Regions from separate parts of the Homo sapiens genome. Here regions 1, 3 and 4 are each linked to region 2. The links are contacts of gene promoters, found by promoter capture Hi-C in blood cells and fetal thymus (Javierre and others, 2016). All regions are on one chromosome and are shown on one strand. Each heading gives the region's core, a stretch centred on a gene start or on the middle of the fragment in contact. The rest is flanking DNA. Distances are from core to core; before and after follow the strand shown.

What was found. The method cuts DNA at HindIII sites, captures the fragments that hold promoters and counts their contacts. A CHiCAGO score of 5 or more calls a contact.
Region 1: a contact is called between a fragment that was not itself captured here and the fragment with the promoter of NRXN2 in region 2, in 1 of 17 cell types (M0 macrophages). The highest score is 5.7, in M0 macrophages.
Region 3: a contact is called between a fragment that was not itself captured here and the fragment with the promoter of NRXN2 in region 2, in 1 of 17 cell types (M0 macrophages). The highest score is 7.3, in M0 macrophages.
Region 4: a fragment that was not itself captured here is called in contact with the fragment with the promoter of NRXN2 in region 2 in 4 of 17 cell types (M1 macrophages, M0 macrophages, megakaryocytes and 1 more); the score reaches 8.4 in M1 macrophages.

The regions. Positions count from the first base shown.
Region 1 is chr11:64,515,964-64,522,459 of GRCh38, forward strand. No RefSeq gene overlaps it. Among named protein-coding and RNA genes, the nearest start is that of SLC22A11, 37 kb to the right of the region's middle. The HindIII fragment of the contact is 8,566 bases long and covers 229-6,496 here.
Region 2 is chr11:64,719,446-64,725,956 of GRCh38, forward strand. NRXN2 (neurexin 2) reads right to left here and starts at 3,752. Exons shown (of 23, transcript NM_015080.4): 1 at 3,526-3,752. RefSeq lists silencers at 3,632-3,926, 3,913-4,212 and enhancers at 4,593-4,642, 5,852-6,511. The HindIII fragment of the contact is 9,459 bases long and covers 2,868-6,511 here.
Region 3 is chr11:64,539,811-64,546,460 of GRCh38, forward strand. No RefSeq gene overlaps it. Among named protein-coding and RNA genes, the nearest start is that of SLC22A11, 13 kb to the right of the region's middle. RefSeq lists an enhancer at 174-712. The HindIII fragment of the contact is 4,414 bases long and covers 605-5,018 here.
Region 4 is chr11:64,495,636-64,502,655 of GRCh38, forward strand. LOC124902690 (a long non-coding RNA gene) reads right to left here and starts at 5,259. Exons shown (of 2, transcript XR_007062721.1): 1 at 4,386-5,259; 2 at 1-981. The HindIII fragment of the contact is 292 bases long and covers 5,235-5,526 here.

The DNA.
Region 1 (6,496 bases), core at 3,262-5,761, 200 kb before region 2:
ATTTCTGAAGCTGCATCAGTTAGCACACAGTCAAGAGACAGGAACCACCCCAGTTATCTGAACAGAGAGGATTTAATATAAATAATTGTTAACTAGATAAACAGTTGTTAACTAGGTAAATAAAATGGTAAAAAAGAGAAATGTAGCCTATCAAGGGATTAGCAACCACAGGCAGCAGCTGCCACCCCCAGGGCTGAGGGAGCAAAGGGAAGAAGCTGGAATTATTAAAGCTTAGTAATTAAAGGAGAGGCCCCCTGGGCTTGGGACCCAGACTTCTGAGGAGAAACTCTGGTGGGTGCTGGTGTATCTGTGGGATAGAGAGGGGACAAGACGAAATTGGTTTGCAAATGTCTAAAAAACTGCAAGCTGGATTTCACAGCTGCAGGAACTGCTGCAGCCAGGGTGAAGCAGCTCTGCTGGGAGGATGCTCATCAGAACAGGAAGCCAACTGGAAGGAGCAGGTCCCTTCTTCCAGCCCAGCTTGTTAGTCTCTCTCTAGTGCCCCCTATTGGCAGACCCTAACAGGGATGTGACTGTCAAAGCAGAAATGTTTGCAGAGTTCCATCACCAGTATCACAAAACCGAATACAGAAGGCTGGTTTGGAAATGAGACAATAGTTTAATAACGGACCCACTTGCTTATGAAAAACAATTCAATGACGTTTGAACACTTCAGTTCACCTTATTCCATCTTATATTTCATTGGCGAATTACAGTGACTACAAAAAGTTGCCTTAGCTTTAGTTTGTTTTTTTAATCTTTCAAAATAAGTAATATATTACTATTTTATACAGTCTATACATCTTGTTAAGAATTATCCACATCACACCCGTTCATTTGCCCATAATTTCTTCTTCTTTTTTCCTCTATAAACTTCTCCATTCTCCTATTAGTGCTTCCTAAGACTACGAAAACAATCAAGTTGTACACAAATACTTGTGTCAGGGTCAGCTTCTAGGATAGCTAAAATTAAAACAGAGCCCAAAGGCTCCTGTATCAGAATTAATGAATGTAACATTTTAAACAGACTATATTTATACTGTTAAAAGAAATAAAAGATGGATTGAAAACATGAGTAAGATATAAGAGACTTCAAACATAACTAGGCACATTTTTTAAAAAGCTAATAGAATTCCTAGAACTGAAAGTATTATTATTGATATTAAAGACTCAATGTATAGACTGCAGAACATACTGAACACAGTTGAAGAGAGAATTGGTGAAATGGAATGTAGACACTATACAGTAAAAGTCCAAAGAGGAAAGTAAAGGAAGTCCATGGATGCATTACCAAGCAAGTGTCAATGTGAGCCACAGAAATGCAAAGCAGAGGAACTCTGGAGACAGTGCAGAACATGCATGGGGGCTATTCCAGTCTGGAGGTATTTATTTTCAAACTTCTTTTCATCATTGGCTGATGTTGCAAGGATGTTGCAGGGGAATTAATTTCCAGGCACTTCCAGTCTTCTCCCTGTGCATTGGGACAGAGCCTTTAGACAGACACTTGAAAAGGATGCCACCAGCATGCACTGGAACAGTGAGGGCTGAGGAGACTTGGGTGGGGCACCTAAGGGAACATCTGCCATCATTCACCCCTTGAACAGCTCAGATGCACTCATGCTGCAAGTAAAGTTGACTCTGCTCCATCCCTGCTTCTTCAAGGTTGTGGCCTATCACAATTTCTAAAAAATAACAGGCAGGTCAGGTGTGGTGGTTCATGCCTGTAGTGCCAGCACTTTGGAAGCCTGGGGCAGGAGGATCACTTGAGCCCAAGAACTCAAGACCAACCTGGGCAACATAGTGAGACCCCAGTCTCCACTAAATAAATAAAACAATTAGCTGGGCATGGTGGTGCACACCTGTAGTCCCAGCTACTTGGGAGGCTGAGGTGAGAGGATCACTTGAGCACAGTAGGTGGAGGCTGCAGTGAGCTGTGATTGTGCCACTGCATTCCTGCAGCCTGGGCGACAGAGTGAGACCCTTTCTCAAAAAAAGAAAAAATAATACAACCGGAATATTAGCAGGACGAAGTGCAGTCCCTGCCGCCTCAGTGGGTCCCAGGGCCATACCTGACATTCATTATCTCTTTCCTCTACCAACTATTCTGGATTCCCTGCACCCTGGGCCTGTACTTCTGCTGGTCTTGGTGGCTTGCCTGGTGGGGTGATGCAGACTTCATCCCTGAGGTGTCTGAGCCCCTGGTCACCACACCTGGCGAGGCCATGGCTGCTGCAGTTGCCCGTTCAGACTTATTACCATACCAAGCACCAGGAGGGGCTGCAGCGAATTCCTCAGTCTTCAGACAAAGTCCTTCCTGCTCCTATTACATGGCAGCATACAACCACCCTCACCAAATGCCACCTACTAACTGGAGTCCTTAACATGTCCCCATTGAAGCATTCCCCTTCCCCAGTGGGAAATAACACCCCTAGTCCAAGCAGAGCTTGAAGTCGTGGAGATGGGAAACAAATTCGCCAGGGAGTCCTGCGGATGATGGTGAGAGCTTCCGCCCCTACTTCCACCCCTACTTTCACCCCTTGGGTCCTCTCACTATAAGGGACACACACCATGGGGTGGCCATTGGTTCAGAGTATAGATCGCACCTTCCAACTCAGTGTCCCAGTGCCCTAGGGTGTCTTCCCCAAACTGGTTTCTTCCCCAAACATTCCACCCAGCCGGCAGATGCTTAGATGGAGACCCTAGTGGGTCCTCTTGTCCTGCCCATCATCACAACTATTTTGCTGTAATTTGATTCTCTCAGTTCAAGGCCATGTTATTTGCAATCCCATAATGGCAAATTAGACACCCCGTGAGTCCGCAGACTCACATGAGTCCAGAGTACTAGCTGGAGCCCTGCAGTCAGGCAAGGTAAAATCCTACCTGGAGTAGGGGTCAATTCTGGTCCAGAGGGCTTGCTGCTCCCTCCAGTGTAGGGGGATTAAATGCAACCAAGCTGCTGTCACATAGCGAGTTGGTCTCCTCCAGGGACAACACCATAATGAGGGCCTAGCGTTAGTCTCTGCTCCTGAACACGCAGGTGTTTAGCCGAAGCTGGATCAGCCTTTGTGAGCCGGACTCCAGGCACAGATGGAGTGAACCCATGCACGGTCTCCCAACCCACCACCGTGGCGACTCCTTGCACACACTCATTGTGCAAGTGCAGAGGTGGCTGTGGGCAGAGGCTGGTTGAGCTCTGCTGGCTGAGTCACCTTTTCTATCTGGTTCTTCAGTGCTTCATCTGCAGTTGATAATTTCAGGGGGCCAGCGGTGGTGTTGACGTAAGACAATGTGCTCACTCCCATTTGCTCATTCCCATCACTCTTTCCCAGGCCATTTTTTTCTGATCTTCCAATCTCGTTCCTTCCAAGTCTCTGACGAACCAGCCCAATCAGTTACCATTGCCCAGAGTCTGTGTACATCCTTACCTAAGTGGATAACCAGGTGCTTGCCTGAAGCTCTGCTGGCTGGATCGGCTTGGAGTGAGGCAGCATCCATTTTTTATTTGCTCCAATATATCAAGCCAATATATCAAGTTTTTTATTTGCTCCAATATATCAAGCCAATGAATGAGACCCAGAGGATCCCAGCCTCTGTTAGCCAGGTGAGGTGTGAGCTGAGAGAGGCAGGGATGCCAGAGATGGGTGACATGGGGTCTGGGCCACCTGTTTGTGTAACCTGTTTATACCATTAGGACCTGCTCAGGCATGTTCCTGACTGTTCCATTTTCATCATTCAGTGGATTGTTTTCATTACGGCCAAACACTCCGGCTTGGCAAGCCTGGTGATGCCCAGCTCAAGATGGGCAGCTCTACCACGGAGTCACTGTTGTCCTGTGCCAGGCATGAGTGTCTGTCTATGAACTACTTTTCAGTGGTGACCAATTCTCTGCTGCTGACAGTATTGCCTGGTTCTTGCGTCCACACCGTGAATCCCCTATCTATTCTTTCCAGATGCTTTCCAGGCTTTCCACAGCATCCCTCTCTGCCACGGGCAGCTCTGGCACCGCAGGATGTGAAAAGATGCAGCCCAAGTGGCAGAGTTACTTATCTGGCACCTGAACCTTCTAGAGAGAGAGACATTTCTTGCTCTCAGATCCAACAAAACCGGCAGTCTCCAAGTCATCTCATAAAGAGGTTGGAGCAGTATTCCCAAGTGTGCCATGACAAGAGATCATCTCCAAAGTCCCAAGAGGCTTACCAAGGTCTGTGCCTTTTCCTTAGTGGTGGAAAATACAAGATGACGTAACTCATCCTTTACTTTGAAGGGAATGTCTCAGAATGACCCACACCACTGGATTTTTTTGTTTTTTTTGAGTCTTGCTCTGCTCCCCAGGCTGGAGTGCATTGGCGTGATCATAGCTTACTACAGCCTCGACTTCCCAGGCTCAAGGGATCCTCCCACCTCAGCCTCTGGAGTAGCTGGGATCACAGGTGCACGCTACCATGCCCAGCTAATTTTAAAAATTTTTCGTAGAATTGGGGTCTCTCTATGTTGTCCAAGCTGGTCTTGACCTCCTGGGCTCAAGTGATCCTCCTGCCTCAGCCTCCCAAGTAGCTGGAACCACAGGTGTGCACCACCACGCCCAGCTACTTAAAAAATTTTTTTTAGACATGGGGTCTTGCTATATTACCCAGGATGGACCCCTGGATCTTTATTGAGATAGCAGACCCCTGAACCACTCTAGGGCTTATCCCCCACTCTCTGCAATGCATGGGTGCCTTACAAGGGCATGTAGGGTATGTTCCACTTCCTGCTTACCAGGTCTGATTAGCATGGCATCTTCAGTGTAGCATCCCTATGTGATGTTCTGTGGGATGTCCAGATGATTAAGGTCCCTGTAAATGTGTACTGCTGCTATTCCAGGTAAGTGCAAATCAGTTTAGATACATCTTCCTGATAGGGTTTGAGAGGGTACACACACCAGATCAACAGCTTTACACCGAATTCCAAGGCTGTGCTGATCTGTTCTACTGAAGACATTGTACATGGCACAACAGCAGCACTTGGGGCTCCCATGCGGTTGGGTTTACAAGAGTCCATCATCATCTGCTACAATTCAGATGACTTTTTCAAGGGCCATACTGGTGAATTAAAGAGGGATATATTAGGGACCACATTCTCTGCATCCTCTAAGTGAATAAGGGTGACACTCATCTCTGTCATGATGCTCAGACTTAGTATTGCTTCTGATTTTCCATCTTGTAAGTGTCTCCAGCCTAAACATGTGCTCAGAGACTAAAGAAATGGCCATAGATGGTTCTCCAGACTCACTGGCTTCCTGAAAGGTAGACTTGGGCCAGAACTTCATTTATCACGTGGCTTCTGTAGACCCCACTCTAATGGGGGCGGTCACGATGGTATTTTGGGTTCTCTGGGACCAGTGTCAATTCTGACACGTATCCATCAGTCCTTGAGAAATCTGGGCATCCTCCTTCCCCACTATAAAAGCTATTCTGATAAATAAGCAGAGCAGAGGGATTGGGAGAATCCTACTGTGTGGGCTTTCAGGATCCTTCCTCAAGAGGACCTTTCTTCCCTTCAATCCGCAGGCTCTGAGTCTGAGAACTAGCACGAACCTAGAAGTTGGCGAAGAGATAATAATGTTTCCATTGAAGTGGCTGGCCTCAGCCTTCTGCTCACACATTCTTATCCTTTTTTGGTTACATAAGTCAAATAAGCACACTGGCTGCCCACCTACCCTGCCTCTAGAGAGAACACAGTCTTTTTTTGTTTTGTTTTATTTTTTAGATGGAGTCTCGCTCTGTCGCCAGGCTGGAGTGCAGTGGCGCAATCTCAGCTCACTGCAACCTCCACCTCCCGGGTTCGAGCGATTCTCCTGCCTCAGCCTCCCGAGTAGCTAGGATTACAGACATGCACCACCACGCTCAGGAAATTTTTGTATTTTTAGTAGAGATGGGGTTTCACCATGTTGGCCAGGATGGTCTCGATCTCTTGACCTCATGATCTGCCCGCCTCTGCCTCCCAAAGTGCTGGAATTACAGACATGAGCCACTGCGCCCGGCCAGAACACAGCCTATTATTCGTTACCACAGAGCCCTGAATGTCAGGCTCCTGGTGACCTTTCCACCCTCATTGCACATTTTGGTAATGGCATCATCTTGCCTCTGAGGGTTAAGAGTGCTACATGGTCTCTGCCGTTTTGGGATCCTCTCTTCTCCGTGGACACTAGGGAGGCCAGTTCTATAGCAGCCTCCCGTCATCAATCCTGTACTGCAGATGATGACCACAACCGGATTTGGCAACGCCGCCGGGGCTTCCTTCACTGGTGCATGTCTTACAGTCTTCACAAGCAGAGTCCTCTGGCGCTCCCTGGGAACATACACAGGGAGTAAGTTCTCCAGTCTTCCATCATAACTTCATTGTAACACGTGCACCTTCTGAGCCACTTGATCCCTTTCTTGATCAAAATCTGCCAAGGTAACTCCAGCATTTCTTCCTCATCTACTGCAGGCCATTGTTGCTAAATCTCAAGATG
Region 2 (6,511 bases), core at 2,502-5,001:
GAGTCCCATGCCAGGGTGGGCTGGGCATGAGCGGCCATGTCTGCAGGTCGCCAAGCAGCTCTCTGTGTCATGGAGAGAAGCATGGAGCGGGCTGGGCCCAGGAGCTGGTAGCTCGGGGTGCACAGGATGAGGCTGCTGCCGCCTCATGGAGCTGGGGAAGCGGGTGGGCTGGGGACAGAGGTGCAATGGAATGACTTGGTGGAGTGGGGGCCGGAGGACAGGTGCATGGGAGCATGGAGGTAGGTGGTGGGAGGGATGAGCACCAAGCTTACCTATGCTGTGCACAGCTGGGGCACAGCAGCCTGGGCGGGTGCACCCCAGTGATGCAGAGGGGGACAGATGGCTTCCAGGGGCGGCCTTGTGAGTAAGCATGAGGTGCCTGGGAATGTTCCTAAAGGTATCTATGACAGGTGTGTGCGCGTGTGTGTGCGTGCAGGGAAGGTTATGATAATGACAATAAAAATAGCTACCATTTACGGGGACCTTCTATGTGTCTTACAAATACCTCAAAGTAAGGTTTACAGAGTGCTTCGCACAAGGCCAGGCACACAGTAGGTACACAATAAACATGCTTGTTACTACTATCATTGCCATCATTGTCCTCTCAGTGAGTCCTCATAACATCCCACTAGGTAGGGATGAGGATCCCATTTCACACGTGAGGAAACTGAGGCTCACTGAGGAGCACAGCGGAGTCCCACCTTCACCCTCACCCCACCATGCCAAACAGTGGTGGTGGCAGTGGGGAAGCAGCTTCGTAAATAACAAGGTGCCACACACATCCTTGAAAGTGTGCACCAGACTATTTGTTGAATGAGTCTCCGAGAGCCCACAGGCCCATCAGTGTGGAAGGGGCAGGGGCGAGGGAGCTGCACCAACAGATGGAGCAGCAAGGTGGGTGGCGTGTGAGGACACACAATCGGGGCATCCCCGTGGGGGCTGGGCTTGGGAGCTGCGAATGAAAGGACAGTGTCTCCAGTGCACAGGCAGGTGTAGGGGCCCTTGTGCCTGAGGATTAATGCGGGGGGTGGGGCCACTTAGAAATGGGAAGGCTCCCAGGGAAACCAGGTGTAGGTGGGGGCTGGACTCCACTGGGAAGGGTCGTGGTTGTGGCCAGGAGGGGTAGGAGGCCCTGCGCCGAAGGTACAAAGATAAGTGAGTGAGAGAGAGAGAAAGTAGAAGAGAGGTTTAGGGGGTGAGCCACAGCATTAAGTGTGTTAGCAAACATGTGCTGGTGTGCACACACACGTGCACACACACAAAGGCCTGGGGCAAGGTGTTCAGCACCCAGACAGACATGCACATGGTACTTCAGGATGAGCTTGCTGGGGGGCAGGGACTGGTGTGTCTGGGAGGGTGTGCCCACATGCTGTGTAGACCTGGGAGGGATGGGGTGTCTGGAAGGAGAGGGTGTGTTGCAAGGACTGAAGGTGTATGAGGAAGAAGCACAGGTGTGCCTGCGATGGCTGTGAGCCTGGGGAGGTGAGTGGTTGGATGGGGGCTGTGTGCATCCAAGGGTGAGGGCTGGCAGTGCTGCGCTGGGGGCTCTGGGGGCACGTAGTGGCCGTGTGTGTGTTGTGTACATGGCAGCAAGGCACCTGGGGGAGGTCTCAAGGAGGCAGGCATGAGGTGGCAGCCTCTCTGGGTGGGGAGTGTGGGCTGTATGCTGCCAGGAGGTGTATTGTGTACGCAGGTGTGTGTGCCTGTGTAGGTGTGTGTCTGGGTGGGTGCCACCGAGCGCGTGTATCATTGTCAGAGTGTCTGTGTCACTGGCAAGGGTAAGCGGGAGGGAGCAGCTGGACCTGGGTAGTGACTGAGCCTGGAAGGAAAGAGGGGTCCCCACCAGCCACTCGCGCACCCAGCCCCTCCTCTCAGAACTCCAATGTCATATGGATTCAGCCCAGGCCTGGGCTGGAAAGAACTGCCCGGCAGCCGTGGCTGGTTGGTCCATCCCGCCCACCCCTGTGGATCTGAGGATAGGATGGGTCTGAGAACACTTCCTCTAGCATGAATGAAGAGCCCCCAGCCAGACCCTTCTCCCCTGTCTCCCAAAAGATCCAGCCACACCTCAGATGCCAGCATCCCTAGAGCCATCCCTGGAAGCAAGAGGAGGTAGGGACTGAGGGGCTGAAGCACCCACAAAACAGAAGGCCTCACAGTTAGCAGACTGCAGACCTCCCTCCCCTTCTCCTTCCCTCTCCCTTCTTTCTTTCTCCTTCTCTGGCAGAAGACAGAGAAAGTAAGACCCTAATGTCCACCCTCCTCCAAAAGGAACACCCAGACACTGGGAAGGTAGACAACAGGGAAGGATAAGAATGAATGGAAGAGGAGAGACGCCCACCCGCCAACACATGAAAAAACAGGGCTATCTGGAAGCCCCCAGGGCAGCCAAGGGACTGGGGACCCAAGACCCACCCCCTAAAAATCTATTTCATTATTCCAGGTGGACAGCCTCCTCCTTCACCTCCAGACACCAAGAAAAAGCCCCTCCCAGCCCTTGCTAGCTCAATGAGGCATCGAATGCCCTCTCCCAAGATTCAGGAGGGGGGTGAGAGTAAAGGAGACAACAGCACCCCAAAGCCAATTGTGCCCCAAAAGCCCATCAAGGGTTCAAGGGCTCATACCCCAACCCAAAGACCCCAGGGAAGATTGCTGCTTCAGCTGGGGGAGGAGGCTGGGACATGAGAAATGGTCCCTTCCTCTTTAGGGGTGGGGGAGCAAGCCAAGGGCCCTGCAGCTTCCTCTCCCCCTGCAGCACTCTCTGACCAGAACCCTGTCACCGCCCCCAGCGCATTCCCACCCCAGCAAAGCCCCCTCCTACTGATTTCCCAGTCTCCCTGTCTCATCACCCCCAGCCTTCCCCCGCAAGCTTCCGCTCCTCTCCCTCAGACCCCATCTTTCCCAGCTCTCCACCAGCACAGACCCATCTCTGCCTGGAGCACCTTGGCACATTCCCCTCTGCTCTCTCCCAATAACCTCTTCTCCCCTTGGCTCCCATCCCCCAGGAAAGCCTGGTCCTCAGTGGGTCCCCTCAGGACGAAGCCCTTGGCCTGGCCCCTTTCCTTCCCTCTCCACTTCTCTCTCTTCTCCAGCCCCCTCTCCTCTCCTCCCACGAAGCCCAGTTTCTCGCTGGTTAGACCCTCCAGAACACAACAGCTCCTCTGGCCCGGCGCTGCTTCAAGCCTCTGGGGCTAGCACAGACTGGGGACCCCCCTTTAAGAACCCCCTCTAAGTCCTCTGGATGCCCCTCCTCTCTCCATCCCTTCCCCCAAAGACCCTTCCTCCCACCCCTCCCCATTCTCCTCAGCTCTCAGGGCCAGTGCCCCTTCCACAGGAGCCTCCGACCCCCAAGCCCCCAGCGGCTTTGCCTCCTCGCTGTCACCGGGCCAGCCCTCTCAGCGCGGCGCCCCCGCCCCCCAATTCATCCGTCCTGCCTCCCTCGCCCCCTCCGATCCGCTCCCCTCCCCCGATCGGCTCCCGCCCCCCGCCCGTCTCCGCCGCAGCGCCCCCCCCCCCCCATTTTACCTGGTTCTCGGGGCGCCAGAAGCTGGAGGGTGGGTAGCAGAGCTACAGGGCCGCCCCGTCTCCGACGGGTGGCAGAGCCAGGGCTAGCGGTGTCTGCCGCCTCGCGCCTCTCTCCCTCCCCGCCGCGTCCCCGCCCGCCCGCCCGCCCCGCCGCGGTGCCTCTCCGAGGAGGATGCTCCGCGAGTCAGGGCGGCTGCTCCCGCCGCCGCATCCCTGCAACACCGACTGACGGCAGCATCAGCACCAGTGCCCGCCCCCGAGACGCGCGCATTGGACCACGCTGCGCTGACGGGCGAGCAGCGCAGCCAATGCAAGGGCTCAGAAGCCGCCAGTCCAGCGGCTCCACAGGCCCACTCCCTCCCTCGCGCGGGACCCAGGCGTCCCGGCCCCAGCACCCGCGCTCCTCCCAGCCTCTCGAGGTTCTCGGGCGCCCGGGCCCCCAACCAGGCGGGCCCCAAACCCGGCCTCAGTGTCTTTTCCGGGAACCCAAGCACTCTCGCCCCTCGCCCCTCGCCCCTTAGTTCGGGGCCTTGGGTCCCGCACCCTCCCCCCACGGCCAGCAGGTCTTCGCGCAGCGCGGGGCTGGGACAAGCCGAAGGAGAGGCTGTGGACCCCGACTTGGGACGCCGCGAGAGCAGGGCTGATGCGGGGCCTGGGCCGCAGCGCCCTCTGCTGGCTACCCCCAGGGGCGGGCCCGGGCTTCGAGGAGCCTAGAGAAGGGGGACTCGGTGGGTCCATGGCTGCTGGGGGCTTTTTCCAGTCGGTAGCCTGGCCCCCACCTCCCACCGTCCGGAGGGCCCCTGGCTTGGAGCCCCCAGAACTGAAGAGGAAGGGGCTTTGCTGGGATAAAGACGGAGGCGGTGGGGGAAGGAAAGGCAGAGATGGGGGCGGGGTAGACCTAGGAACTTGGGGGTTTCCCAGTCCTGCCTCATGGGAATCCCAGAGTTTGAGGCCAAACTCTCAGTTCTGCCTGGAACCCTGGACCGAGGTACGAGTAGGTGTGGGGGCAGGGTTGCGCCTGCACATGCCTGGTGACTGAGGGCACCTGGCAGCAGCCCCCTTCTCTGTTCTCCTCCTCCCATCCATGAGTTTCAGTTAGAGTGGTGCTGGGGGGCGCAGGTCTCTCCTGTAAGGGTACATGCATCACTGTGCATGTGTATGAGTGTGGGGGACTGGGGGACACCCTTCACTCACTCCGCCAATAAAAGTGTACACACACTGGCACTTAGTGTGTATACCCCGAGGTTGGTCACTGGGCTGCTGAATGAGACAGTGAGAGACAGAGTGTGTGTGTGTATGTGTGCCAGACCATTCTGCCAGCTCACTCCAGGACCCTGGTTTCTGTTGCAGGGTCTGTGATCTGCACAGCTGGTGGTAGTTGGCACTTCCTTAGCCAGAGGCAACATGCAAGAACACTTACATTCAACCACCAATGCATGGACATTGGGGCACTCACAGCCATGCACACATATCTGTGAACACTGGGCATTCCCAGAGACACATAAGAACACCTGCAGAAATGCCCCACCATGGTAACACACCCACAGGAAGCATATACTGCCCAAGAACACACACACTTGTGCACACAGGTACCTACACCAGGCAATTAATGCATGCCCAGAACAGCTGCACCCAGGGGACCTGCCCACAGTCATCCTGGACCCCTGCCCAGGCACTTCAAAGAGAGTGGTCAATTACTGAGTGGCTTAATGCGGACACCAACCCCCCGGGTGGGAAACTCCTTCCCCAGCCTGTGAAGGGGTAAGAGGGGGACCCAGGCTGCAAGGAGTTTTTCCTAGGAGTCGAGAAGGGTGATCCCTAAGCCAGGTCCCAGACTTAGGGCCCACTCTGACCTTGGAGAGACCCCCAGGGCATCCCCACCAAAGCCAATGAAGGAGCCAGAGAATGGAACTGCTGCGTCAGGGCCTATGAATGCGAAATCGCCTCCCTGACCCCACAGCCCACTTTCCTGCCCATCCCCCACTGTTCCTCTTCCTGCAGCCTCCTCACACTCACACACACACACACACACACACACACCCCTTGTCCATCCAGGCATCAGGGCATAGACAGACAGATGCAATGGCTCACAGAGACAGACTCAGACCCTTACAGAGGAGCCTGGGCAGGGAGGGAGGTAAGTATGAGCACTTGTCTCCTTTCCCTACCCCCAGCTTTGCCCATCAAGGGCAGAAAAGGTCACCGGGCAGCTGCTGCATCTCCCTGTCCCTCCCACCTACAGGGACATCTCTCCTCTCTGCAAGGTCCAAGGTTCAGATTGCCTAAGCATTTGGGACCTGCCACTTCAAGACACACCCCACACACACACACACCACACACAGGTACCCACCCAATGTGGACAGTTGAGTGATATGCTGAGCACATGCCCTTCTCCCATGTGCAAAGGCCAGTGGGGACACATGGGGGAGGGGAAACACAGCAGATACAGCATGCATGTCCATGCACACACATGCACACAGGCGCATACAATGTGAAGCTCAGACACCAAATTCAGACACATGCAACCATGAAGACCGCTACTTGTCACATCCCGGGCAGGCAGACCTGGACACACATATGCATGCATGCATACACACACACACACACACACACACACACACACACACACACACCAGGAAGAGGCCAGACTGGAACTGGAGGGTAGTGACGAGAGGAGCCAAGAGGAACCGACTGGGCTGCAGGGATGGAGGCAGCACAGGAGGCAGGCGGCACAGGAGCGAGCTGCTCTTCACAACACAATCGCCGTCTGTTGTTATAGCAACTCAGCCCCCAAATCGTGAAACGGATATTACAGCCTCAAGAGGGGGAAGGGCGGAGGGGGCTGAGGACAGAAGGAGGGGCAGGGGGGCACCCGATGCAGAGACAGGGCTGGGGGGCCCAACACAGGGTAGGCCTGCAGGAGAGATATGACCAGGAAAGAGAAGGGAGTGACCCAAAATAAAGAACAGGCCAGGGGGAGTGGGGT
Region 3 (6,650 bases), core at 1,562-4,061, 180 kb before region 2:
CCTTAAGTCACTCGAGCAGGAGAATCTGCCTCCTGGGACTAGCAATGCCTTATTCTTAAAAACAAAGAATGCTGGCCTCAGCTCAGCTCCCTTGGCAGGCGAAGGTACCCAGCCAGAACTGTCACATTTGTTTCATTTGCACAGGATATTTTTACAGTTTTCTTCTATTTGTGGCGAGTGATCCTGGTTTTCCAGTTGTGGTCGTTGCTGTAGACATTCTGGGGCACATAAATGATTTAGAAGTCAGTTCGCCGAGAGAAAACCATGAATTAGATAATAGTACATGTGATCTGAAGATATGGCAGGAGTCACAAAGGTATGTAAATGACACAGGTTTGGAAAATGCTGCTCTGAGGCAAGACAAGGATCACCTGCTGGGTCAGGGATGCATTATTTTGTGACTGTGTCTTGTTCTCAGGCTATGGTGGCCTGGAGGATTTGGGAACCCCAGAACAGATGTGAGTTGATTAAGCATACACATGGCACTTCCTTTGTGGCCGGGTACTCCCCTAAGTGCTTTTCTGATGTGGCCTCACTTCATCCTCACAACTATGCCATCAGTCCAATGTTCCCATCTTACAGATTAGGAAACTGAGGCACAGTAAGCTTAGCAAGCTGCTCTGAGTCTGCCCAGCCGGTGAGTGGCAGAGCCAGGGTTTGAACGTGGCTGCCTGGCCCAGGGTCTGTGCTATGAGCTCCCACCGGGGTCCCAGCGTCTCAGCCCTTACGCCCTGCAGGGCAATTGTCGGTGCTGCGGTTGTGTCCCTGGGTCACCTTTTCAACGTGTGCCCTGCAGGAAACACAGGCCTGGCCCTGCCTGGTGCTGGTGCCTTGGAGCCTCTTAGAGTTGTTTTGTCATTTGCTGCCATGGGGGCCGCAGCCTCCACCAGGGCCCCTGCTGTGTGGGCACCGAGGGAGACTCAACATCCTTGGGGGTGGAAATCCTCTCCTGAGACTAGGGTGGCCGCTGCTGTGACTGGTGTCCCCAGGCCAGGGAAGCTGAAGCACGAAGTGTGACTGTTATTGTCCTTCCAGGGCAGAGTTAGGGGAGTGTTGGTCACTAAATGTGATAACAGGCGCCACCAGGCTTCCCTCCAGGACCGGGCATTTGGAGAAGGCACCCACCCTCCTTTCAGGACAGTGGCAGAGGAGGGGTCAGATATAAACTCACCCCCGGTTCTGAAGATCTGAGGACCCCTAAAGAACATTTCACCCCACTCCCTCCCATCACTGACCCCATCCTCCTGGGCATGGCCAGCCTGGGGGATTTTCTCCTTCTGCCTGGAACTGACACTACCCAGGACTCAGAGGACGGTGAGCAAGGTCCTAGGGAAAGGGTCGATGATGAAGAAACGAGAAGACAAGGTCCTAGGGACAAAGTTCCAAGGGAGAGGGCTCCCTGGTGGCGACAGAGAGAGCCCAGAGGTGCCCGGGTCCTGCTGGGCTGGGACGTCCTGTCCTCAGTCTCCCAAAAGGCTCTGGGGTCAAGCTGTCCCCTCGGCTCCAGGTTCTGTTCTGCCCGCGTTGTGAACAGCTGGAGGCCCCTACTCTGCAGGGTGCCCTGCCTAGGGGCCAAAGTCACTGACCCAAGGCCTCAGTGGCCAGAGGTGTCAGGTCATCCTATGCACGATGGGACCCGTCTGGCACTTGGGTTCATTGGCTGCCAGTCCCTATGCCGCCCTGGCTGCAGGTCTCCCGACCACATGTCCAACCCCTCAAGAGGAGCATCTGCCTTCCATATTCATCGTTCTAGAAGCAGGAGGAAGTCAGGAAGTGGAACTGTGACTATAATAGAAAAGGGGTCTTGATCAAGACCCTAAGCAAGGGTTCTTGGATCTCACACAGGAAGGAATTCAAGGCAAGTCACAGAGTGCAGTGAAAGAAGCAAGTTTATTAAAACTCCTCCATTCCCAGCCTGGCGTGGTGGCTCACACCTGTAATCGCAGAACTTTGGGAGGCCGAGGCGGGTGGATCACTTGAGTTCAGGAGTTCAAGACCAGCCTGGCCAACATGGTGAGACCCCATTTCTACTAAAAATACAAAAATTAGCTGGGCTAGTGGCTCGCGTGCTTGTAATCCCAACTACTCAGGAAGCTGAGGCAGGAGAATCACTTGAACCTTGGAGGCAGAGGTTGCAGTGGGCAGAGGTCGTGCCACTGCACTCCAGCCTGGGCGACAGAGTGAGACTCTGTCTCAAAAAAACACAAAAAACAAAAAACAAAAACAAAAACAAACAAAAAAACCCCTCCTCCATTCCAGAGTAGAGCACCCTCAGAAAGCAAGCAGAGGACCGCCCCGTCCTTAAGTTTCTCTTATACAGGGGTCTTATCTGTGTAAAGACTAAACTAAGCTGTGCCTACGTGTGGCTGGGCTGACAGCATGACAACAATAATTATTCTATTTATTTAAGAAAGCTATCCTTGACATCTTCGTGTGTGAGTACATCAAAGCATAACTATAATTTTTTGAAAGCATATATTGTTATGGGCATTGGGACATCTGGACTTTCTGCTGTTGTAGGAGCATGTCCTTGCAGGTATCTTCAGGCTGTGTCCCTAGATGTAATTATCTTATGACTGAGTCACGACCGGCAAAGAATGTCCCTGTTTGTGTCGAAATGGAGCCGAATTTAAAATGGCATCACTGTGGCTCTCCCCGCTCCTGCTTCCGTAAAAGAATCCTTCAAGGGAAGAAGAGAATCATTGAGTGAACATTGTGTCTGTCCTCCTAGGGCCTCATAGAAACCTAGATTCAAATCTCCCTGCCTCCAGGACCCCCATGCAGAGGTGGCACTTCTGCTCCCCACCCCCCGTGTCCCTGAGGGCAGACCCCAAGAAGGGAGCATGGCCCGAACCCCCTTGTCCCAGCCCACCTCACGGCCACCTCCCCTGCCGCCCTTCCAGAAGGACACAGCAGCCCCCACACCCCGTCATTTTCATCTGTCAGGGCCCTCCCCGCCCACCAATTGGCCCTGGCCTGAGGCGTTGGGGGCTGAGAAAGGGTGATATGCTAAGAAGAAATCAGGGTGTGGATGAGCAGAAATACCTAATCGCTTGTGAAATCCCTGGCGTGCTGGGACAGCTTCCTCCGGGCCCTGGTGACACCGCAGTCCTTGTCAGCATTACCCGGACAGGAATCGACAAGCCGAGGGCCCGGGGCAGCAGCCTGATGTCCTTCACATGCACCGGGCGGACAGCGGAGGCCCCGGGCCCGGGGAGGCGGCAGCGGCCGCTCAAGTGAACCCGGGTCTGGAAGCTCCTTACAGCACGATGATGCCCAAGCCCGGCCGGGCAGCTCTCTGGACCCCTCGAGGAGGGTCAGGCACTGCTGTTACACTCCCACATCCCTGGTGGTTAACATTTACCACGGTCTTTCCATATTTATCCAATTCTTATTTAGTGCTTCCTTTTACTGTGTGTAGTCACTGTCCTAAGTGCTCTACTTACACCTTCAAAACGACCTACGAGACAGGAACTACTATTATACATTTTACATGGAAGGAAAGTGAGGCACAGAGAGGGTCAGTCACTTGCCCGAAGTTACTGAGCTGGTAACAGGCAGAGCTGGACTCTGTGCCAGTGTTTCGGCCACTGTACAGTTGCCTGTTTTCTCATCTGTTCCCCGGTTAGATGGGGCTTTTGAAGTCAGGGTCTATGTCTATTTTATTCTCCTTTACCTGCATAGGAATTGGCAGAGCTCTCAGGCTGTCAATAAAGATCTGCTGATTGAAATAATGAATGAGACTGGGCACAGTGGCTCACACCTGCAATCCTAGCACTTTGGGAGGCCAAGGAGAGAGGATTACTTGAGCCCAGGAGTTGCAGACCAGCGTGGGAAACATAGTAAGACCCAATCTCTATTATTTTTTTTTTTTAATTAGCTGGGCATGGTGGCTGCATCTGTAGTCCCAGCTACTAGGGAGGCTGAGGCAGGAGGATTGCTTGAACCCAGGAGTTTGAGGCTGCAGTGAGCCATGATGGCACCACTGCACTCCAGCCTGGGCAACAGAGTAAGACCCTGTCAGAAAGAAAGAAAGGAAGAAAGAAGAAAGAAAGAAAGAAAGAAAGAGAGAGAAAGGAAGGGAGGGGAAAGAAAGAAAGAAAGGAAAGAAAGAAAGAAAGAAAAGGAAAGGAGGGGAAAGAAAGAGAGAGAAAGGAAGGGAGGGGAAAGAAAGAAAAAAGAAAAGAAAGAGAAAAAAGAGAGAAAGAAAGAAAAAGAAAGAAAGAGAGAGAAAGGAAGGGAGGGGAAAGAAAGAAAAAAGAAAAGAAAAAGAAAGAAAAAAGAGAAAAAGAAAGAGAGAAAGAAAGGAAGGAAGGAAGAAAGAGAGAGAGAGAGGAAAGGGAAGGGAAGGGAAGGAAAAAGATGAATGAAGGCCAAGGTAACCTATAAATTGCAAGAGTTATGGTGGACATTTAATGTACAAACCTACCTCCATTCTTGGAGTTTAGACATTTCACCAGGCATGTGCCAATTTTTCATCCTTGCTACCCAAAGCTACTGGGATGTTGCAGTCTAAACGTTTCCATCTTCTTCAGCTCAGAGGTCCTTTCTTTTCTTCCTTTTCAACTCTTTGTGCTTTTGCACTGGGTTCCAGGAAACTCCTTTGTCATGAACTTCCAGGTCACTGTATTCCCCTCATTATTCAATCTATTAATTAGTGGTTTCAGAATTTGCCCATCAAGTTGACAATTTCCAAAACTGAAAAGATTTCCTTTTCTCGGGAACCTATTTCTTTTAAAAAATTGATGTCCTCTCAAATTTCCCTGGAAATAGAAACTACAGCGGTTTTACCTTTTTCTTCTGTTTACTGCATTACTTCATCGTCCTCCTGTGTTGGTTCTTTTGTTTGTTGAGTTTGGTGTCTCTCTTTTGGTGCATTGGATTCTTGCATTTTTAGTGTTTCTTTGTTGCCTCTTCATATTTGAAGATGGTGGGGGGAGGGATATGGACAAAATTGTTTCCTAGAATGTCCTTCCTCAGGCTAAGTGGGAATTCCTGTTGGCTTAGCCATGCATGAAAGCTTTGTGCTGGAGAACCCTGTCTACAGTGATTGTGACGTGTGGGCAAGTGAAAGAGGCCTGTGGCCAGGAGGCACTGGTGGATCTGATTTTCTGAGTAAAGGGTTCTGCTTCCCCATGGGATCCTTAAGTTGCCTGGGGTGCTGCCCTTTTTCTCTGGCCTACCATGCAGTTTCAGAACTCCATTTAGCTGTTCTTGCACCTTGACCTCCAGGCAAACATGGAATTCAATGCCAAGTGGTGTTTGGTGGAGGGAGGGTGGGGCACAGTCAATCTGCTCACCCTGATGCTGTTAATTACCCAGATGTTCTTGGCCTGTGCCCACACTGCAGCCTCTCACCTAGTGCTGTCCTCCTAGGAAGGCTCAGGTGTTTGGGCCTCCTTTCCCTCCTGCATGTGGTGCAGGTCCCTTGGTCTGAGGTTTCATTGTCCATCTGTCCCATGATCTTTATGTCTTATGCAGATTCTTTCCCTAGTTTTCCATTTCTCACCTTTCCCATGCTGCTCTGGGACTGCCAAACTATTTCCTTTCTGGATCCACTTGGATTTGGTTGGAGGAGGTAAATGAGTGCCCCACTAGCCATCCTGAACCGTGAGCCCCTCCATGTCCCTGGGAAAACAGAGAGCTGTTTGACCCAGGAGACCTGTGTGACCCAGAGCTTCGGGTTCTTGCACCTCTTGGGCGATGTCACCCAGTAGGTTCCTTAAGGGCAGGATCCTTAGTTGGCAAAGAAGTGGCTGAGTGAACTCAGTCTGTAGCTAGGTTGAGACCAATGAAGAGAAGGGTCTGAAGTCTACCTGCCGCCAGGGCAAGGGCGCATATGTCAGGAAGAGTGGGAAGGGGGGCTGGGGAGAACGTATGCCCCCAGGCTTCTGCCTCTCCAGTTGTCTGCGCAAAGAACAAATCCTAGTGCGCTGTGGCAGGGGCGGCACGTCTGTTTGCTCTCACGTGCCACTCCGTTCCTTGCTCCATTGCCTGATGATGCAGAGGATAGGAATGGACTTGGCCATGGCGCGCTGCCAGCCTGCATGGTGACACACATCCCCTCGCTTATTCAGCAAGCACTGAGTAGGCACCTCCAGTGTGCAGGCAGGGCTCAGGCACCAAGGGGTTTAGTGATATGCGTTCCCATCTGCAAGGAGCTTATATTTCGACGGAGAGGCTGCCATGGAAATAAACATAAAGTCCCTCTTGGAAACCCCTTCCGAGGAGATAGAAGGTGTGGAATAGTCGTGGCTGTGGAGAATGGTCAAGGCCAGGGCGTCTTAAACTTCAGTGGGCACACAGATCACTTGGGGCTCTTAGTAAATGCAGATTCTGATTCTGGAGGTCTGGGTTGGGATCTGAGATTCTGCCTTTCTAAAGAACTCACAAGTGACATTGATGCTGCTGGTCCATGGACCACACTTTGAGTAGCAAGGGTAGAGGGAAGCCCCAGCTTCCTGCCATGTCCTGATGCTGTCCTGTGGGTGCTGGGGGCACCTGTGGGAACCCACCAGGAACTGCTGCTCCGGAGGCCTCTGAAAGAGGCCCTGTCCCAACCCCAGGCCCAGGGGCAGGCTGGAGGCCGGTTTGCAGGTCAGCCTGGGCTGCAGGTCCCCCACTGCCCTTCATGCTGCTCCAGAGGAAAA
Region 4 (7,020 bases), core at 4,131-6,630, 220 kb before region 2:
CCCCCAGGTCCCCAAAGTCCATTGTATCATTCTTATGCCTTTGTGTCCTCATAGCTTAGCTGCCACATATCAGTGAGAATATACGATGTTTGGTTTTCCATTCCTGAGTGACTTCACTTAGAATAATTTTCTCCAAACTCATCCAAGTCACTGCGAATGCCATTAATTCATTCCTTTTTATGGCTGAGTAGTAGTTCCCTTTTGGGTTTTTATGGAAGCTTTATTACATAGGCATGATTGATTAAATTATTGGTCATTGGCCATTTAACCTTCAGCCCCTCTCTCTTCCCCAGAGGTTGGTGGGGGACAAGATGAAAGTCCTAATCATATAATCCTGCTTTGGTCTTTCTTGTGACCAGCCACCATCCTGAAGCTACATAGGGGCTGTCAGCCATCAGTGAATTCATTAGCTACAAAAGACACTCATCACTTTGAAAATTCCAAGAATTTTAAGAGTTGTGTGCCAGGAAAAGACCAAATATATATTTCACAAGATCACAGATGGGAACCTGTAAACCCTATCCCACTTTAGGCTAGGACCCAAAGGGCTACACGGAAGGAAATAGAATAATCTTAGCTTTTCATCATCTGGACAGCTCCGAAAATCTGAAGCCCTGAATTTATATTAAGGTGATTCTAGACTGGGCATGGTGGAATCATGCCTGTGATCCCAGCACTTTGGGAGGCCCAGGTGGGAGGATCACTTGAGCCCAGGAGTTTGAGACCAGCCTGGACAACATGGTGAGACCTGGTCTCTACAAAAAATATTTTTAAAAAATTAGCCAGGCATAGTGGTGTGCACCTGTGGTCCCAGATACTCGGGAGGCTGAAGTAGGATTGCTTGAGCCGAGGAGGTAGAGGCTGCAGTGAGCCCTGATCATGACCCTGCACTCCAGCCTGGGCAACAGAGTGAGACCCTGTCTCCAAAAAAAAAAAGAAGAAGAAGAAGAGATGATTCTAGATCGTTATTATCCTCAGTACCTGGAAAAAAGAAAAGGAAAAGAAATATTATCTTTAAAGGAGAATTACATCCCTCAGGTCTCAAGTGTTTTCTACAATTAATTTTTTTTCTTTTTAGACAGAGTCCCCTTCTGTTTCCAGTCTGGAGTGCAGTGGCTTGATCTTGGCTTACTGCAATCTCTGCCTCCCGGGTTCAAACGATACCCCTGCCTCAGCCTCCCAAGTAGCTGGGACTACAGGTGCGCACCACCACGCCCGGCCAATTTTTTTTTTTTTTTTTTGAGACCAAGTCTCACTCTGTTGTCCAGGCTGGAGTGCAGTGGCGCGATCTTGGCTCACTGCAAGCTCTGCCTCCCGGGTTCACGCCATTCTCCTGCCTCAGCCTCCCGAGTAGCTGGTACTACAGGCGCCCGCCACCACACCCGGCTAATTTTTTTGAATTTTTAGTAGAGAGGGGGTTTCACTGTGTTAGCCAGCATGGTCTCAATCTCCTGACCTCGTGATCCACCTGCCTCAGCCTCCCAAAGTGCTGGGATTATAGGCATGAACCACCGCACCTGGCCTAATTTTTTGTATTTTAATGGAGACAGGGTTTCACCTTGTTGGCCAGGATGGTCTCGTTCTCCTGACCTCGTGATCTGCCCACCTCAGCCTCCCAAAGTTATGGGATTACAGGCGTGAGCCACTGCACCCGGCCTCTATAGTTAATTTTTAAAATAGTTATCAGGCCAGGCGTGATGGTTCACACTTGCAGTCTCAGCACTTTGGGAAGCCAAAGTGGGTGGACCACTTGAGGCCAGGAGTTCGAGACCAGCCTGGCCAACATGGCGAAACCCCATCTCTACTAAAAATACAAAAATTAGCCGGATGTGGTGGTGGCCACCTGTAATCCCAGCTACTCAGGAGGCTGAGGCAGGAGAATCGCTTGAACCTGGAAGGTGGGGGTTGCAGTGAGCAGACATAGAGTCACTGAACTCTAGCCTGGGAGACAGAGCAAGACTCTGTCTCAAAATAACATAAAATAAAACAAAATAAAATAAAATAAGGTATCAACTACACATTCCAAAATAATCAGATGCATGAAGAGACACTTAGAGCAAGAACCAGCACAAACAGTAACAGAGGGACACAATATTCAATATACTATAAAAACTGTAGACTATGGAATAATTATGTTTACTATGTTCAAGAAAATACATGCTATGCTTGAATTTTTTGGCCAAAAATAAAAAAGCAGCAGCAGCAATACCTGACATAGCAGCTTTGACAAAGAACCAAATAGAAATTCTAGAACTAAAAAATAACTAAAATTAGGAATTCCACTGAATTCCTAATTCCTAAGACAGGAATTCAATTATTAGTTTATTATACATAGGTATAGAGAGAATTAGTGAACTGGAATATAGGTCAGAATAAACCTGGCAAAATAAAGCATGAAGAAACAAAACCTCTCTGTCTCTTGTCTCTCAGAAGAGAGATGAAAAGATCTAATCTGTTTCATTAGAGCCTCAGAAGAGTGGCTGGAGGAAATGGTGCAGAAACATTTGGAAAGATTATGGCTGAGATTTCCCTGGATTTGAGGAAGAACTAATGTTAATACTCATAGATGAGTTAATACTCATAGATTCAAGAGGCCCGAAAATACCAAGTAGGATAAAGAGAAGGAGGAAGTAATTGCAGCTTTGGCTGCCTCACAGAGAAGCCACTGTCCCTGCCATGATGATGAAATTCCAAGAGGCACCACATCAGCCCCCGCCCCACTGTGACCCTCGCCCAGACCACATGGATGGAGGAAACTGAGTCATGGTGTCAGGGAGCCATACCCTGGTCACTGCTCAAGAGCTACCTTCGAATCCTCATTTTGAAAGTGAAATTGCATAATTTTCACTCCATGTACTCTGGAGCCTATGTATAAGAAACTAAACTTTAGAAGCAAGGAGATAGGACAAGAGGAAAGGCAGTCAACTTGGCCACCATACTGGTGACAAAGGTGGGCACCAATGGGAGGGGAGCTGGGGTAATGATTCAGCCTGGAAAGGTGAGTAGAACCAGAGGGAAGGCACGAGGATGACCCATCAGGACCAGGTGGAAAATTCCACTGGGATCTGTGCAGTCCCTACACCCTGCTTCCCGCAACCATCCTCAACCCAACAGCCCCACAATCCCATTCTACCACAAAGATTATGTAGCTCCTTCTTTACTGTCCTGAAATGGAATTCAGAGATACATTTTTAGACCTCAATATAATTCTCTGACAGTAATAAAGAAGAAATAAAGATAACTTAAATAAAGTAATCTGTATTATAATAGATAAATGTCCAAGCACAACTCCACTAGGAGACATGGTCTTCCAAATGGGTGACTAAGTCTTGATAAAAATTGGAACAAAACAAAGTACAATCTCATTTCACATGATAGTTGAAAACTTCAGGATTCAGTTAAAAATATATATAATATAAAATATAACACATTATATTTTTATATATAGTAAAATAATATTAGGTTTTAGGTGCTGAATGATTATAAACAAAGTACTATAATAAAATTTAATTTTGAAATTATGAGACTTCTTTAGCATTTCAGAATAACTTTAAAATGATTTAAAATGATTTTAAATGCAGTCCAGTGGACATTCAGAAGTTGTGCGGGATATGGATGAATCTTGGTGGTGTGGGACCACCTTGCCCACTGTGGAACATTTTAAGTCCCCACCCCAGTTTTTGCGGATGCCAACAGTGTCCTCACCCAGTCACTGTGATACAAAATGCCTCCAGAAGTCTCCAAACCTATTCCGGGTTCTGCCCGTGTTGAGGGCTCCTGGTTTAGGGTGTGGGCTGGGGCTGGCACTGTGGGTGGACACTTGTTCCTCTGACTGCCTGCTGGCCTCACCACCCCTGTGGGCCACAGCCTTGGAAAGAACAGTCCTCATTGGCTTTTTCTTCAAACACGACCCTGGGGATGGCTTTAGTAGCTCCTGGAATGGGGAATCTTAGCCCCGTCTATGGTCAGGTGTCTCCCCAGCTCGCTGAAGAAGAATGTGAAGGGAGAAAGGCTGAGAAGGGCCCCATTAAAGGCGGAAGAATCGCTTCCTCACCTTTCCCCAGTGAGAGAAGATGCGCTTTATTTGTTCATAAAACACACCCATAGCAAAGGCCTGGCACGGTGCACAGTGTGGGGAGCAGAGGATGGGGTCCTGCCCTCCTAGAGTGTACAGCCTGGGTGTGTGGGGGAGAGAGATAATAAACAAGGAAATAAACGGTTACGAGTGTCCCAACAGTCACAGGAAAGAACAAGTGCTGTGTGTGGAAGAATAAACCAGAAGGACGCCACAAAGGAAGGACGGTTGGGGTGGGGGCGGCCACAAGAAGCTCCCACTCTGTCTTCAGAGCTTTGGGTGGGGGGGCGGGTGCCCAAGCTATACTCACCCCTGAGGCTGTTGGTCTCTGGCCAACTTTAACAATGATTCAGGTCTCACTGGACGCACAAGGTATACGTCCTTTCAGAAAGAATGCAGAGCAATGGAAGAGTGGGTGGATTCTTTAACAAAGAAATTGCAAAATTCCAGCAAAATACAACATTTTGGAAGGAAAATCCCTTAGAGGCTCCCCTTTGGTGGCATAGCATCATGGAAATGAACCAAAGAAGAAATGAAACATTTAAAGAACATCCTAAGTTTTAAATTAGACCCAAATGCTGCGACCTCATCAAATAAACACCCAATCCACCAAATTCTAGCCCCACCAGGAGGAGTTAAGGAAGGAGCACGCTCTCAAAATGGCACCCGGGGCCAGCCCTGTGATGGGCGGACTCGGGTCACGTGACCCCAACTGCGTCTTCAAGACTGATCTCTTGTGAGGCTCTTAAAGCGGCGCTCCCCAACATTTCTAGCACCAGGGACTGGTTTGGAGGAAGGCAAATTTTCCAGATGGTGGGGGATGGGGGTGGGGGTGGTTTCAGGATGATTCAAGGGCATTTCATTTATTGTGCACTTTATTTCTATTATTATTACGTTGTAATATATAAGGAAGTAATTATACCCCTCACCATAATGTAGAATCAGTAGGAGCCCTGACCTTGTTTTCCTGCAATGCGACGGCGGCGACAGATCATCAGGCATCAGGTTCTCATAAAGAGCGCACAGCCTAGATCCCTTGCATGCGGGGTTCACAGCAGAGTTCGTGCTCCTGTGAGAATCTAACGCCGGCACTAATCTGACCTGAGTGGCGCTCTGGTGGTCACGTGAGCAACGGGGAAGCGGCCGTAAGAACAGATGAAGCTTCACTAGCTCCCCAGCCGCTCGTCTCCTGCTGTGTGGCCTGGTACCAGTCTGTGGCCCAGGGGCTGGGGACCCTTGCCCTAAAGGCTCCCGGGGCCGGCTGGGCCTGCTTGTGGGTAAGGGAGAGAGGACAGAAGCCTGTGCTGCTCAGGAGCCCCCACCACATAATGCCCTGTGTCCCAGATCCTAAATTCCTGAAAAGGCTAAAGTGAAGGACGATATTAGAGGATATTGAAAGTTTTGTTCCACAACTCCAAAACTTCTTTTATTGCAAAAAGATTTCCGTACCAAGCTTTGACATATATATATATAAATTTTTTTTCTTTTTTGAAACAGGGTCTTACTCTGTCACCCAGGCTGGAGTACCGGGGCAAAATCTTGGTTCACTGCAGCCTCAAACTCCCAGGCTCAAGCCATCCTCCCACCTCAGCCTCACAAATAGCTGGGACCACAGACATGCTCCACTATGACTGGCTAATTTTTAAACTTTTTTGTAGAGACAGGGGTCTCCCTCTGTTGCCCAGGCTGGTCTTGAACTCCTGACCTCAAGCGATCCTCTCGCTTCAGCCTCTGAAAGTATTGGGATTATAGGAGTGAGCCACCTTGCCCAGCTTAAAAATGCCTATTAAAGAAAATTTGGAAAACATATAAAAAGGGAAAAAGTCAATTCTATCTTTGTTTCCGTTTTGCTATCTGTCCAGTGCACTGGGGTGTGGAATGCTAACCTCGTCTCCTCCTACTACCCATGACTCTGCCACCTCCCATCTGTCCTCCTGCTTTTCATCGACCACACCTCCCACCTTGCGACCTTTGCACTGGCTCTTTCCTCTGCTGGAATGCATATTCCCAGAATCTGTATGGCTGACTCCCTCACCACTGAGTCTTTACTCATACACGACCTTCTTGACGACACTGACCTTGACCGCCCCACTTGTAATTGCACTTCCGACCACTCCTGATCCCCCTCCCGGTTACTCTGCTTAGTCTTATTCCTATAGCATTTACCACCTTCCTGCAAGCTAGGTAATTTACTTCTGGATTATGGTTATTTTCTATTCCTGTCTCCCCGATTGGACTGTGTCTATGTCTGTGTCTATGTCTACGTCAGCTGCACGGGCATAGAGATTTTTACCATTTTCTTCACAGGCATATCCCAAGCACCTGGAACAGTGCCTGTCATATACCAGGTGCTCAGTACATTTTTACTTGATGAATTAAATTAATGAAGCCTGGCTGATATTTATTGAGTACTTACTCTGCGCCAGACATTGTTTCAAGTACTTTACATTTTTCCAACAACCCTTGGAGAAAGTTTTAATAAACCCATTTTACAAATGAGGAACCCTAGGCACAGAAAGGCTAAGCAACTCGCCTAAGATCACACAGCCAGTAAATGTCAGTGCCAGGATTTGAACCCAGGCAGTCTGACACCAGAGCTCATAGTCTCAATTGCAGTGAACACCACAGAGCCAGGCATGTTTTAGTGGTCACTACATTTTAGTTGAATAAATGAATAAATAACTAAAAACCAAATATATCAAATAACATTCTAATTTCTCTGCCTAGAGATCAATACTGGCCAACACATGATGGGACATTTTTCTTGACCCTCTCCAATGTGAATTACTTCCTTTTATATGGAAGATTGTGAGCCCTTTGAAGACCTGATGGAAGCTATTGGACAGTAGAAGACACAGAGTGTACATGCAGGTGAAATGTTGCATGCAATTTTCAGGGGCTTAATGGACCTTCCCCATCACATTACAGTTCTCCAGAGAAACAGA